4 separate regions of the Homo sapiens genome follow, and all the other regions are linked to region 3. The links are contacts of gene promoters, found by promoter capture Hi-C in blood cells and fetal thymus (Javierre and others, 2016). All regions are on one chromosome and are shown on one strand. The core of a region is centred on a gene start or on the middle of the fragment in contact, and the rest is flanking DNA. Distances in the headings are between cores, read along the strand shown. Region 1 overlaps DNAH1 (dynein axonemal heavy chain 1). Region 2 holds the start of ACY1 (aminoacylase 1). Region 3 holds the start of TLR9 (toll like receptor 9). Region 4 has its middle 16 kb from the start of SEMA3G.

The links. The method cuts DNA at HindIII sites, captures the fragments that hold promoters and counts their contacts. A CHiCAGO score of 5 or more calls a contact.
Region 1: a contact is called between a fragment that was not itself captured here and the fragment with the promoter of TLR9 in region 3, in 11 of 17 cell types (M0 macrophages, M1 macrophages, naive CD4 T cells and 8 more). The highest score is 8.1, in M0 macrophages.
Region 2: the fragment with the promoter of ACY1 here is called in contact with the fragment with the promoter of TLR9 in region 3 in 1 of 17 cell types (M1 macrophages); the score reaches 5.3 in M1 macrophages.
Region 4: a fragment that was not itself captured here is called in contact with the fragment with the promoter of TLR9 in region 3 in 3 of 17 cell types (naive CD4 T cells, M2 macrophages and erythroblasts); the score reaches 5.3 in naive CD4 T cells.

Annotation. Positions count from the first base shown.
Region 1 is chr3:52,361,671-52,364,370 of GRCh38, forward strand. DNAH1 (dynein axonemal heavy chain 1) reads left to right here. Exons shown (of 78, transcript NM_015512.5): 30 at 1-96; 31 at 718-831; 32 at 1,325-1,474. Among named protein-coding and RNA genes, the nearest start is that of DNAH1, 47 kb to the left of the region's middle. RefSeq lists an enhancer at 621-1,174. The HindIII fragment of the contact is 7,102 bases long and covers 1-2,700 here.
Region 2 is chr3:51,982,266-51,984,965 of GRCh38, forward strand. It overlaps ACY1 (aminoacylase 1), which reads left to right and starts at 1,270. Exons shown (of 15, transcript NM_000666.3): 1 at 1,270-1,324; 2 at 1,782-1,893. The coding sequence starts at 1,800. ABHD14A-ACY1 (ABHD14A-ACY1 readthrough) reads left to right here. Exons shown (of 17, transcript NM_001316331.2): 4 at 1,782-1,893. RefSeq lists a silencer at 855-1,304. The HindIII fragment of the contact is 7,715 bases long and covers 1-2,254 here.
Region 3 is chr3:52,224,269-52,226,968 of GRCh38, forward strand. TLR9 (toll like receptor 9) reads right to left here and starts at 1,377. Exons shown (of 2, transcript NM_017442.4): 1 at 1,259-1,377; 2 at 1-44. The coding sequence starts at 1,261. RefSeq lists enhancers at 1,157-1,256, 1,509-2,010, 1,767-1,856, 2,011-2,510. The HindIII fragment of the contact is 14,815 bases long and covers 1-2,700 here.
Region 4 is chr3:52,427,408-52,430,107 of GRCh38, forward strand. No RefSeq gene overlaps it. Among named protein-coding and RNA genes, the nearest start is that of SEMA3G, 16 kb to the right of the region's middle. RefSeq lists enhancers at 559-2,700, 1,287-1,386 and a silencer at 2,566-2,700. The HindIII fragment of the contact is 5,128 bases long and covers 1-2,700 here.

The DNA.
Region 1 (2,700 bases), core at 91-2,590, 140 kb after region 3:
TGGGCCTGCTTCGACGAGTTCAATCGCATCGACATCGAGGTGCTGTCTGTGGTGGCGCAGCAGATCACCACCATCCAGAAGGCGCAGCAGCAGCGGGTGAGCCCGGGGGACCCACCTTACTCCCTCAGATCTGCCATACTCACGCCGCCATACTGCTCCCCATTGCAGGCTGAGAAGCCAGGCGCTAAGGTCCACCCTGGGTCCAGCCTCTCTTGTCCCGGGGGCACACCCTAACCCCAGTCTGTGGGCAGCTCCCAGGCCAAGCTGCGGGGGATGAAGGGGTCCCCTCCTCATTACATCCTGACCTTTATGGAAAGCCCCAGGCATTGGTCCTTTCTCTAGCCACGTGCAGGGCGGCCAGGGACCTTGTTCTGGGGACAGGAGCTGAGAGGCTAGCAGTTATCCCCTCCCCCACTTCCCCTAGTCAGGCTGAGCTTGGCTGGAGCTGGGGAATTGGGGGTGGAGCGAGTGGGAAGCAGGAGATGTGGAGACCTCCAAGGGCCTGAAGCCAGGAGCTGGAAGGCCATGGGTAGCCACTGGGGCCTGAGGTTTCAGGCCAGATCCTGAGAGAGGATACAACCCATGATCAGGGGTCCAGGCCTGGCCTACCAGCTACAGCCAGGACAGGGGCATCAACAGGGGACAAGGGGCCCACTCAGAGGAGGGGACAAGGCTGGGCACCCTAGTCCCAGGCAAGTCAGCCTCTCCCCACTGCAGGTGGAACGCTTCATGTTTGAGGGTGTGGAGATCCCACTGGTGCCATCCTGCGCAGTGTTTATCACCATGAACCCGGGCTACGCTGGCCGCACGGAGCTGCCTGACAATCTGAAGGCAAGTGCAGGCCCAGAGTGGCCCAGGAAGCACCAGAGCTCTAGCCTGAGTTCAGAGATGCTAAGCCACTTATGCAAGGACACAGTTGCTTGGACTCCAGGGACTGTGATTCCCTATGGTAGCCCCTTAGCCATGGAGGGGAGGCCTCAGGGCCTCAGACTTGTCCTCAGGGCATGGGAGAAGTCAGGCTGCCTATGGATGTGGTGTGGAGGGGGAATCTAATGAGACCTGTTCACCCTGGGCCTTCAGGAGAAACAGGAAAACAGGAGCCAAGAGGGGCATCTCCTGGGAGTCATGTGGGGGCAGGTTTGGATCAACACCAAGGATCCACTCTAATGGCAGAGCTACCAGTCTCAGGGGAGTGAAAGCCTCAGCTGTGGCAGGCTTGGTGCAGCAGGGAGTCCCAGCGTGTTAGGGAGGAGGGCCGGATGAAGCTGGGGGTGCTCTGGGGGTGAGCTCTGTTTGCTGTTCACATGTGCACTGTGTGTCCCAGGCGCTCTTCCGACCCGTGGCCATGATGGTTCCAGATTACGCCATGATCACTGAGATCTCCCTCTATTCCTTTGGCTTTAATGAGGCCAGTGTGCTGGCTAAGAAGATCACAACCACCTTCAAGCTGTCTTCTGAGCAGCTCAGCTCCCAGGTGTGGTCCTGCCCTGATGGGTTTCCAGGGTCTGAAAACTTCTGCCTGCTCCCAGCCTCCAGGGCACCTGCTGAGGGCCAGGCTCTATGCCCGGTGCTTTACAGGCATTACCTTGTCGGCTTCTCCCAGCAACCCTTGGAGATAGGAGTTACATGCCCATTTGTCAGCTGAGGACACCGAGGTCCTAGGTAGCTAAAGGTCTGGCCAGGCTCATGCAGTACACAGCAGCGCTGGAGCAGGAGCCAGGAACAGATGCCTGTGTGGCTACTTCAGGTGCAAGGGCCTTGATCATTAGGGCACCAAGAGCTTCAGAACCCCAGGCTGGGGAGCAAGTGCACCTGGGCCTTGTGGGGACCAGAGTAGGACAGCCAGGCCCTCCGAGCCTCCCAGCACCACCATCCTTCCACTCAGCTTGCTGAGCCCAGATTCCAAGGACAGATGGGGTGGCCCAGGCACCAGTGCTGGTGGATGAGCTTTCCTGTTCAGCTTGGTTCCCAAACAGGCCCCCACTTTGCAGCAGCAGAGACGAGTCCCACCTCTGGGCTGACATGCTAGCAACTTAGTTTGTCTTCCATCATGATTTCAGAAAAAAATCCCTGTTGTCACCCTAATGGGCCTTCTCTGGGTCACCTGCTCATCCATGAACACCAATCACTGTGGCCAGGGGTAATCAGTACTACCTTTGGCCAGATGCAGTCCACCAAAATCTATGAGCTAGAAGAGATGCAGCCTGTTACCAGGAAAAGCAGTGGCAGTTCATCACAGTGCACTCCTGGGTGCCGGCGCTCCCACACACCCTTCTTTCCAAAATGCTCCCCACCCCCAATCAGAGCAACTATCCCACATGGTTTTGGAAATGCACTCAACTCTTCCCAAATAGAAATGACCCAAAGTCAAGCCCAGCCTCTTCATGCAGCTCCAAGTCCGAGATTTCTGGAACATATGCTAGTCTATGGGTTGGGTCTAGATGGAGTCCTCTTGGTTGGGCACCATGGGGCAGAATGATTAATTTAACTATTTCCAACTCACTTACTGTGTAATGAAGAGAAACAGGCTGGGGGAAAAAGCATGGTGGTGTGGCCAGAAAGACGGGTCTGGAGAGATGTTATGGGAGAATGTTAGAAGGAAGCTCAAGGGCCATCAAGGCCAAGCTGATTGTTGCACAGATGGGAAACTCCTTCATTCACTTTTCCAGCACAACTAGAGGGCCCTCCTGCCCCTGGCCA
Region 2 (2,700 bases), core at 20-2,519, 240 kb before region 3:
GTTAAAGTCTATTTGCCCGCATGAATAAATAGGTAAATAATTAGCCAGCATTGTTGTGAGTTAAAATCTATTTGCCCGCATGACAGAGTGAGACTCTGTATCAAAAAAATAACTAAATAAAGAATTATCCAGCATTGTTATGAGTTAAAGTCCATTTGCCCCCATGTTATGTGTGAGCAGCCAAGACTTAAACCTCAGGAAAGGTGGGACAGAACCCTTCCCACAGCGTGCCTCCTTGGCCTAGAGATTGAAGTCTTTGTCCCTCACCCTTCCCCAAGCTGACTCAGCCCCTGGAGCAGAGGGCAGACCTGGCTGGGAGTACAAAGGGCAGCTGGGGCACAAGTGGGCAACTGCAGCTGTGGCCTGCAGGGGGCCAGTGGTACACCTGTGCCTGTTTAGCCTCCCCCTCTGGTGGCTGCAGAAGAGCCAGTTTCCTCACACTGTCCATCCAGGGTCACAATTACATCCATTCACAGTGACTTCATCACACCCACCCACCATCTCACACTGTCACATACACAATCATATCCACTGATAGACTGCACACGCAGTGGCACGCTTAAACCGTCACACGTGCTCTTGTCCATGCATTCATTCCCATTCTAGGCACTGTCCGGGCTCGGCACGGCCCCGGGCAGAACCTTGCAGGAAGTGGAGCTCACAGCCTCCTGGAGTTCAGTGTGGGCAGACAGACATTGGCCAATAACTTCAGTACAAGTGGAGCTGAGGCGTCAGGGAGGACCTCCCCGAGGGGCTGAGGCCTGCAGTGGGGAGCCGTTGGAGACTTGCCGAGGAGGGCGAGGGCGCAGGCCCAGGGCTTTGCAGCTCTGCATCTTGAGAGCCTCGGGGCGGCCCCCTTTCCTCCCGCCCTATCCGGGGGCTGAAGGAGGAGGCGCCCTTAGGGGACGGGACCGTCCTGAGCTCCCGGCGCATACCTGGGGGCAGGAGTGGCAGGCGTGTCGTGTGGGGCGGGGCGAGCCTGTCAGAGCAGGGCCAGCCCGGAGCTCGCAACTCGCGGGGCGGCGCTGGCCGCGGCGGCCGCTGCCCGGGGACGGGATCCGGATCTAATCCTCCAGTAATCTCGCTGAGGCCCGAACCAGAGGCGGGCGGGGACATCCGCGCCGACGCGGCCGCTGGCGCCGGGACGGCCCTCACTGACGGTCTTCGGTCTCCGCCCCGACATCCGGCCTCGGCCACGTGGTGGGCGGACCGGGGCGGTCCTGAGCCTGCGACCTCGCAGGCGACCTCGCTGGACCCTAAGTCCAGGCCACAGTCAGGGAAGGGCGCTGAGAGGCGAGCGTGAGCCCAGCGACAGGAGAGTGAGGTGGGGGCCCTGGGGAGGGATAGAGGGACTGGGGCTCCGTGGCTTGAAAGCCGGGCAACTGGGAGGCGTTGGGGTTTTTCTTGTTTGTTTTTTGTTTTTGTTTTTGCCTTTTTTTTTTTTTAGGAGGGCGGGGGGAGTACAAGTCTGGGTTCAAACCTTGCTCAGCTACTCTATGAGCTGTCCTTGAACCTCTCTGAGCCTCTCAGCTTTCTCCTCTGTAAAGTGGGCATTCTGAGCACAAACTTCATGGGGCTCTTTTGGGGATTAAATAAGGAAATGTGCTGGAAGCAGACAGCCCAGCGCCTGAAACAGAATGGGTGCTCCTTAATGGGGGCTCCGAAACACGGTATCCTACCCCTGTGGGAAGTCCGGGAGCCGCCGTGGGGACAGGCTGTGTGCAGGAGCTCACCATTTCCAGGGTCTTGGAGGGGTAGTTAGCCATTCACTTTGCCCCCAGCTCACCACGCGCAGCGCCATGACCAGCAAGGGTCCCGAGGAGGAGCACCCATCGGTGACGCTCTTCCGCCAGTACCTGCGTATCCGCACTGTCCAGCCCAAGCCTGACTATGGTGAGAAGACGGTGGTTCCAGAGCCTGTGACGGGGCCTAAGGGACGGGGACTGTGCTCTAAACCAGCCTCCAACCCCTGTCACCCAGCTGAGCCCCACTCTGCTGTCCCAAATGGCTCCCCAACCCCTCCAGCCATTCCCCAAGTAAATAGACTGAGGCAGCCCCTCCAGGTTAGGGAGGAACCCTTTCCCCAGAGACTCTGCTGCTGACCAAGGTTACTCCTGGCAGCTGGTTAAAGAAAAACTTCACCTCACTCTCCAGGGCAGGAGTGGTGGGGGAAGCCTGAGGCAGCCACAGGGAAAGGAGAGGCCCTCCAGAAGCCCACTGGGGCTGGACAAAGGCCACAGCCCTTAGGGAGTCAAGCTTGGTGGCTAGGGCCTGGGAGGTGGCTCCTGCCTGTTATCCCAGCACTTCAGGAGGTTGAGGCTGGCAGATTGCTTGGGCCCAGGAGTTCAAGACTAGCTTGAGCAACATGGCAAGACTCTGTCTCTACAGAAAAAATACAAAAATTAGTCAGGAATGGTGGCACACCTGTAGTCCCAGCTACTCCAGAGGTTGAGGTGGGAGGATCGCTTGAGCCTGGGAGGTTGAGGCTGCAGTGAGCCGAGATCGCACCACTTCACTCCTGCCTTGGTGACAGAGTGAGACCCTGTCTCAAAAAAAAAAAAAAAAAAAGGAAAAGAAAAAAAAAAAACTTAGTGGCTGGGAATTGTGTACATGGGTCCAAATTCCTCCTCTGTGATTAATCAGCTGAGAGATGGTGGGTGAATCTCTTCATGTCTCTGTGCCATAGTTTCCCATATTTAA
Region 3 (2,700 bases), core at 127-2,626:
TGCACCAGGAGAGACAGCGGGTGCAGGGCGCTGCGGCAGAAACCCTGTGGGGGTGGGAGGGCTGTGTGAGTGGCCGGCCCCCAGCTCTACCTCCACCCACTCCACTTCATGGGCATCTTCTAGCATCTTCCAACCCCTCTCTCCAAGCCCTACCTGCAGAAGTTCTTCCTGGCTGCCAAGCCCCATTCCCATCCCCCATGGCTTGTGGGGAACCTGAACTCAGTCTCAGACCCAGTCTTGGACTCAGAATTAGGCTTCAGAACCAGGACTGAGACCTAGAATCCAGACTTATGATCTACAGCTTTCACTTAACCAATCCCTGGCTATACCAGGCCAGGCAAGGTGGCCCACGGCCCCCCCTGGTCTCTCCCCGACTTTCCCTTCCTGCTCCTGAGCAAGGTGGCAGCTGGCTCCCTCCCCTCCAGCTGCCCTGAAATCCGCTCTCTGCCCTCCACCAGCCACCCCACAACCCCTTCCTTTTCCTTCGGCCAAGATTCAGGCAGGTGTGAGAGTCTCCCACTATGGCCCAGGCCGGCTGCCTCCCAGGGACCCTGGCCAGAGGGCACTGCACAGCTCCATCACTCTCTGCCTGCCTCACCTAGCCCGAGAGCCTTTGCCTTATGGGTCAGAACAGATGGAGAGAGGGGTGGCCTGCAAAGTGCCAGACAGAGCCAGCCCCAAGCTACAGGCCCAGTGAGACCCAAACCCAGGCTCCAGCCCCAGCTCCATCAGTGCCTCAGTCTCCTCGTCCCCTCTGGGGGTTTGGGTCTCATTGCTCAGAAGAGGGCTTCAGTGGCTGGGCACGGTGGCTCACACCTGTAATCCCAGCAGTTTGGGAAGCCGAAGTGGGCAGATCACCTGAGGTCTGGAGTTCAAGACCAGCCTGACCAACATGGAGAAACCCTGGCTCTACTAAAAATACAAAATTAGCCAGGCATGGTGGCGCAAGCCATAATCCCAGCTACTTGGGAGGCTGAGGCAGGAGAATCACTTGAACCCGGGAGGTGGAGATTGCAGTGAGCTGAGATCAAGCCACTGCACTCCAGCCTGGGCAACAAGAGCGAAACTCCGTCTCAAAAAAAAAAAAAAAGAAAAAAGAAGAGGGCTTCGGCTCTGAAGTCTTCAGGATTCAGTGAGTGTCCCCAGGGCCATGTGGGTGACAACCCGTCACTGTTGCTTGCAGCTGCCAAGCCCACTTCTTTCCCCACCCCTTCCCAGGATATCCCCTTCCCCAGGGGACTGAGAGCTGTTGTCCTACCATGCTGGGGGGCAGGGGCTTCTCCAGAGGGTCTGGCGGGCAGACTGGACAGCAGCTACAGGGAAGGATGCTTCACACTCGAGGTCCCTTCCCACAGGGGCAGCAGCGGCTCAGAGAATAGAGGAAGTAAGATTTTTATACCAGCCTAGTAGCTCCCCCTCCACTCCACCCTGCCCCCAGTGAGGAGGACAGGGTCCCATGAGTCAAAGGCCATTTGCATAGTCAAATGGCAGACAGCTCCTTCACCCCTTCCTCTTTCCACTCCCCTCTCAGACAGCCTACATCCCATGAGGGCCTCACACCTGTCCTCTACCAAGCCCAGGGAGGAGCTAAGGCCCAGAGCTCAGGCAGAGAGCAGGGAGAGATGGGAATTCTGGATAGCACCAGTAGCGGGTACACCTTGCTGGGCACTCCCCATTCTAAGAGGACACTTCCACCCTCAGGTCTTGGCTCCTGCACCACAGCTGGTGCCCTCAGGACAGCGGCTGCCGACTTGTCCTTTTCTGCCCTTGTAGGCACCATCTCCAGAGTTCTGCAGGGCCTCATGCGTGGAGGGCCAGGGTGTAGCTTGAGCAGGAGGCTAGGCTGCACCTGCCTTCACCACAGCCTTGCAACATCTTCCGGAAACAAGACCTCCTCCTCCACATTCCCAGAGCCCCTGGGGCCCCATCAGAGCACACACCACGTCACTCCAGATGGGGCTCCTAGAGGCCAGGTGTGTGCTGGCCCAGCAGGGCCGCCAGCCAGTCCTCCCCATCAGTTCTTCCCACTCTCCTTCTGATCTAGGTGAGGAGACTCAGATTCCTCGGGCCCAAAGCCTTGGGTGACCCCGGGCCCCTCAGCAAGTTCTGCTGGGTCCACCATGCTGAAGGGTGTGCCCACAGCCCACCGTCCCCATGTCCACCAGCCCCCATCCTCTCTCCTAGACCCATGCAGGTGCCACCTCCCTTCTGGCTGTCCTGCCCTGCTCTCTGCCCTCCAGGGGCTGGTCACATTCAGCCCCTAGAGGGAACTGTTCAAACCTAAGTCACACTAGGTCCCTCCTCTGCTCAGACCCCTCCCTGGCTGACTCTGGAGTCAAAGCCACAGTCCACAGATGGCCAACAAGGCCCTATGGGACCTGCCACCCGCTGTTCCCCTGAGTGCTCTCCAGGCCCACTGGCCTGCTTGCAGTTGACTGTGTAGCCCCTGGGCATTCTCCTGCCTCAGGGCCTTGGGATGTGCTGTTCCCTCTGCCTGAAAACTCCCCCAAGTCTCATATGACCCCTCCTTTGCCTCCATTATGTCTCTGCTCCCATGTCACCCTCTCAACAGGGCCATCCAGCCTTCTTACAAACCTCCCACCCCAGATCTGGCACTCCTGAGCTCCTTTGCCTGGTCTATGTTTCTCTTTGTCCTAACATTTTTTAACTGCTAGCACACCGGATCATTGATCTTTCATG
Region 4 (2,700 bases), core at 182-2,681, 200 kb after region 3:
CTCCTGCCTCAGCCTCCCAAGTAGCTGGGATTACAGGCATGCGCCACCATGCCTGGCATTTTGTATTTTTAGTAGAGAAGGGGTTCACCAGGTTGGTCAGGCTGGTCTCGAACTCCTGACTTCAGGTGATCCACCCACCTCGGCCCCCCAAAATGCTGGGATTACAGGCGTGAGCCACCATGCACAGCCTATTCAATCATTTAGTATGGACTCCTGGACTTTGGGTTACAATGTAATAATACTTTATTTTGTTGCTCAAATTGCTTTGGCCACTGGGTGTTCATGTGTCCTTTTCACACATCCCCATCACTGTGTGTCTGGTTTTGTTTTGTTTTGTTTTTGAGCACTTTTTTACTTTCTGACACTGCAAGATGCCCCAAGCTCATCTTCTTTTAAATGCCTGTTTCATGACAAACACATGTTTAAAATTTTTAATACCTATTTTCATAACTGATGTGTCTTATTAGAATTAATTACTGTTTCATAACTTAGGAGCTGGGACAAATCAGTTCACTTAGGGATAGTAGAAATAGATGTTAAATAAAACTTTCCCAAAGCACCTGCTCCCCTTCCTCTAATCATTACCTTTACGGGAACCGTAAACTAAGGCCAGAAACCTCAGATTTTCCTTCAGCTTCCCTCTCTGTTCAGCCAACCTCTTTGTTGTCAGTTCGACTGTTTTTCAAATGTTTGCCTTCCTCTCCTTCCCATTGTCAGTGCTCAGCTCAGACCTTGATGCCTCATAGGATGGGCAGCAAAAGTCTGCATGGTTTCCTGTGTCCACTTGCTTCTCTGACACATCCACCCTTTTCCCTTCTGCCAGTTACCATAAAACATGTGCTAACTCTTTGCTCAGGATGGCCCTGCTGAGATTGGCATTCAAGACCTTCTACAAACAGGGCCTTCCATAGCTGCATCTCCCAGGACATCCCACCCACAGGCCTTCTTCTCTGGCTGCCTCAGAACACTGGGCCCGGGCCTGGGGTGCTCAGCCTGGAGAGTCCTGGCATCCATCTTCAGCCTGTTAAACACAGCCTAAGGGCTACTTCTTCATCTCTAGGCACTCTTACTGTCTCTGTTTGTACCCCCTGTTATAGCCCATGTCATTCTCTGTCTGTCCTACAGTTATGGGTCTGTCTTTCCTGCTAGATCAGAAGCTCCAGGGACCTGTCTGTCTTATTAACCTTTCTTCCCCTCATGATGCCTGGCCCAGGACTCCACGTTCAGAGGCAGTTTAATGTCTACAGAACTGATGGATGCTCCATACCCTGTATTCATAAGCCTGTGTTTTGCTGCCAAACACCAGAGGGCACTGTTAGCATGTCGATGAAGATTATAAACCCTCAGACCTGGAAGGCTGGGAAAGGCTTATGAAAATCTTGCTTCTGTTTTGGGATTACATAAGACTTATTGCGCCTCAATTGTTCTAAACACATCTGTTCGAGTTTATTCATGAGGCACGTTCCTGTTGGGGTTAGAGATGAGTTTGAAAGCTCCCCGTCACAGGTCAAATCCTTAGACAAGACTGCCTTCATAGTCTCTCCAGACCCAAAGTGGCTCTCCTAACCCACCAAAAATATCTCCCAATTACTCATTGAGAGGCATCCAGATGCCCTCTCCTCCACCAAAAATGGCGACTGCCAGTCCCAAGGGGGAATGTGTGATATGGTTCTATTCCTTTTCTGCCCCACCCTCCTCCCACATGCACACATGCACAGGTACCTGTCCACACGAATGCACACTCACTGCCATCAGGACCTCTGGGTGGTGGCTCAAACGGTGGCTCAAAGGCTCTAGCCTCTATGGGCAGGGTGGGAGGATGCTATGAGAAGCAGCACCTCCACTGGCCCTGACCCCAGGGAGACAGCATCAGTTTCCCATGTGCTCCCAGTCACAGCATCATGGGGGCCCCCAGGTGTGAGAAGTCTCCCTAGTGACTAAGCCAGGGAGCTCCATTCCAAAGGAGCTGGCTATTTGCAAAGGTGTCATGGCTTGTACATTTTTCCAAAAAATGACAGAAAAACTGAAGAACTGATTTTTTTCCCAAAACAAAAAACCCTTGCCCTCACTTCTCCCTAGCAAACCTGCTCTAACCCTGGGATCCCTGAGCAACATGACAGCATGAGGTCCAGATGGAAGGGGTAAGCCCCAGGAGCCCCTTCCCCTTGTCTTTGGTGTAAACTGGCTTCTTGACCCTGCCCTGCACACACCCCTAATAAACAGGAAGGCATCCGCGCCATTAGTATCCATCCTTTTCAGAGCATCTGAGACCTGTCTGGACCATCAAAGCCATCCCCAGCCCCCAGGAGCCTACTGGAGGAGACACCAGCCTCGCCAAAACAATTCTCCATTGTGTTCTTCCCCTTAGAAATCATGGGTTTGTAAACAGGCCCTTACATTTCAGCAGGTCCTGCCCTGGCTTTGTGCTGGTGTGTTGTTTTTTCTTCCCTGAACAATGTCCTTTCCAGTAGGGCCAGCCGTTCACACCATTGTCTGAGACCCTTGGACTACAGGAAACATCACCAGATTCTTATCAGTTGGGGGCAGGAGTGGGGGGGTGAACAGATGAGATCATGTCCACAGAGCAAGTGGCTGGTGTGCCACGTCATTCCCCATGCCTTCATCTGTGAGAGCAGAGCCCGCTCGCCCTCCATCAATCTGGGCTTCATGTGTCCAGAGTCCAGTCCCCTCTATTTGGTG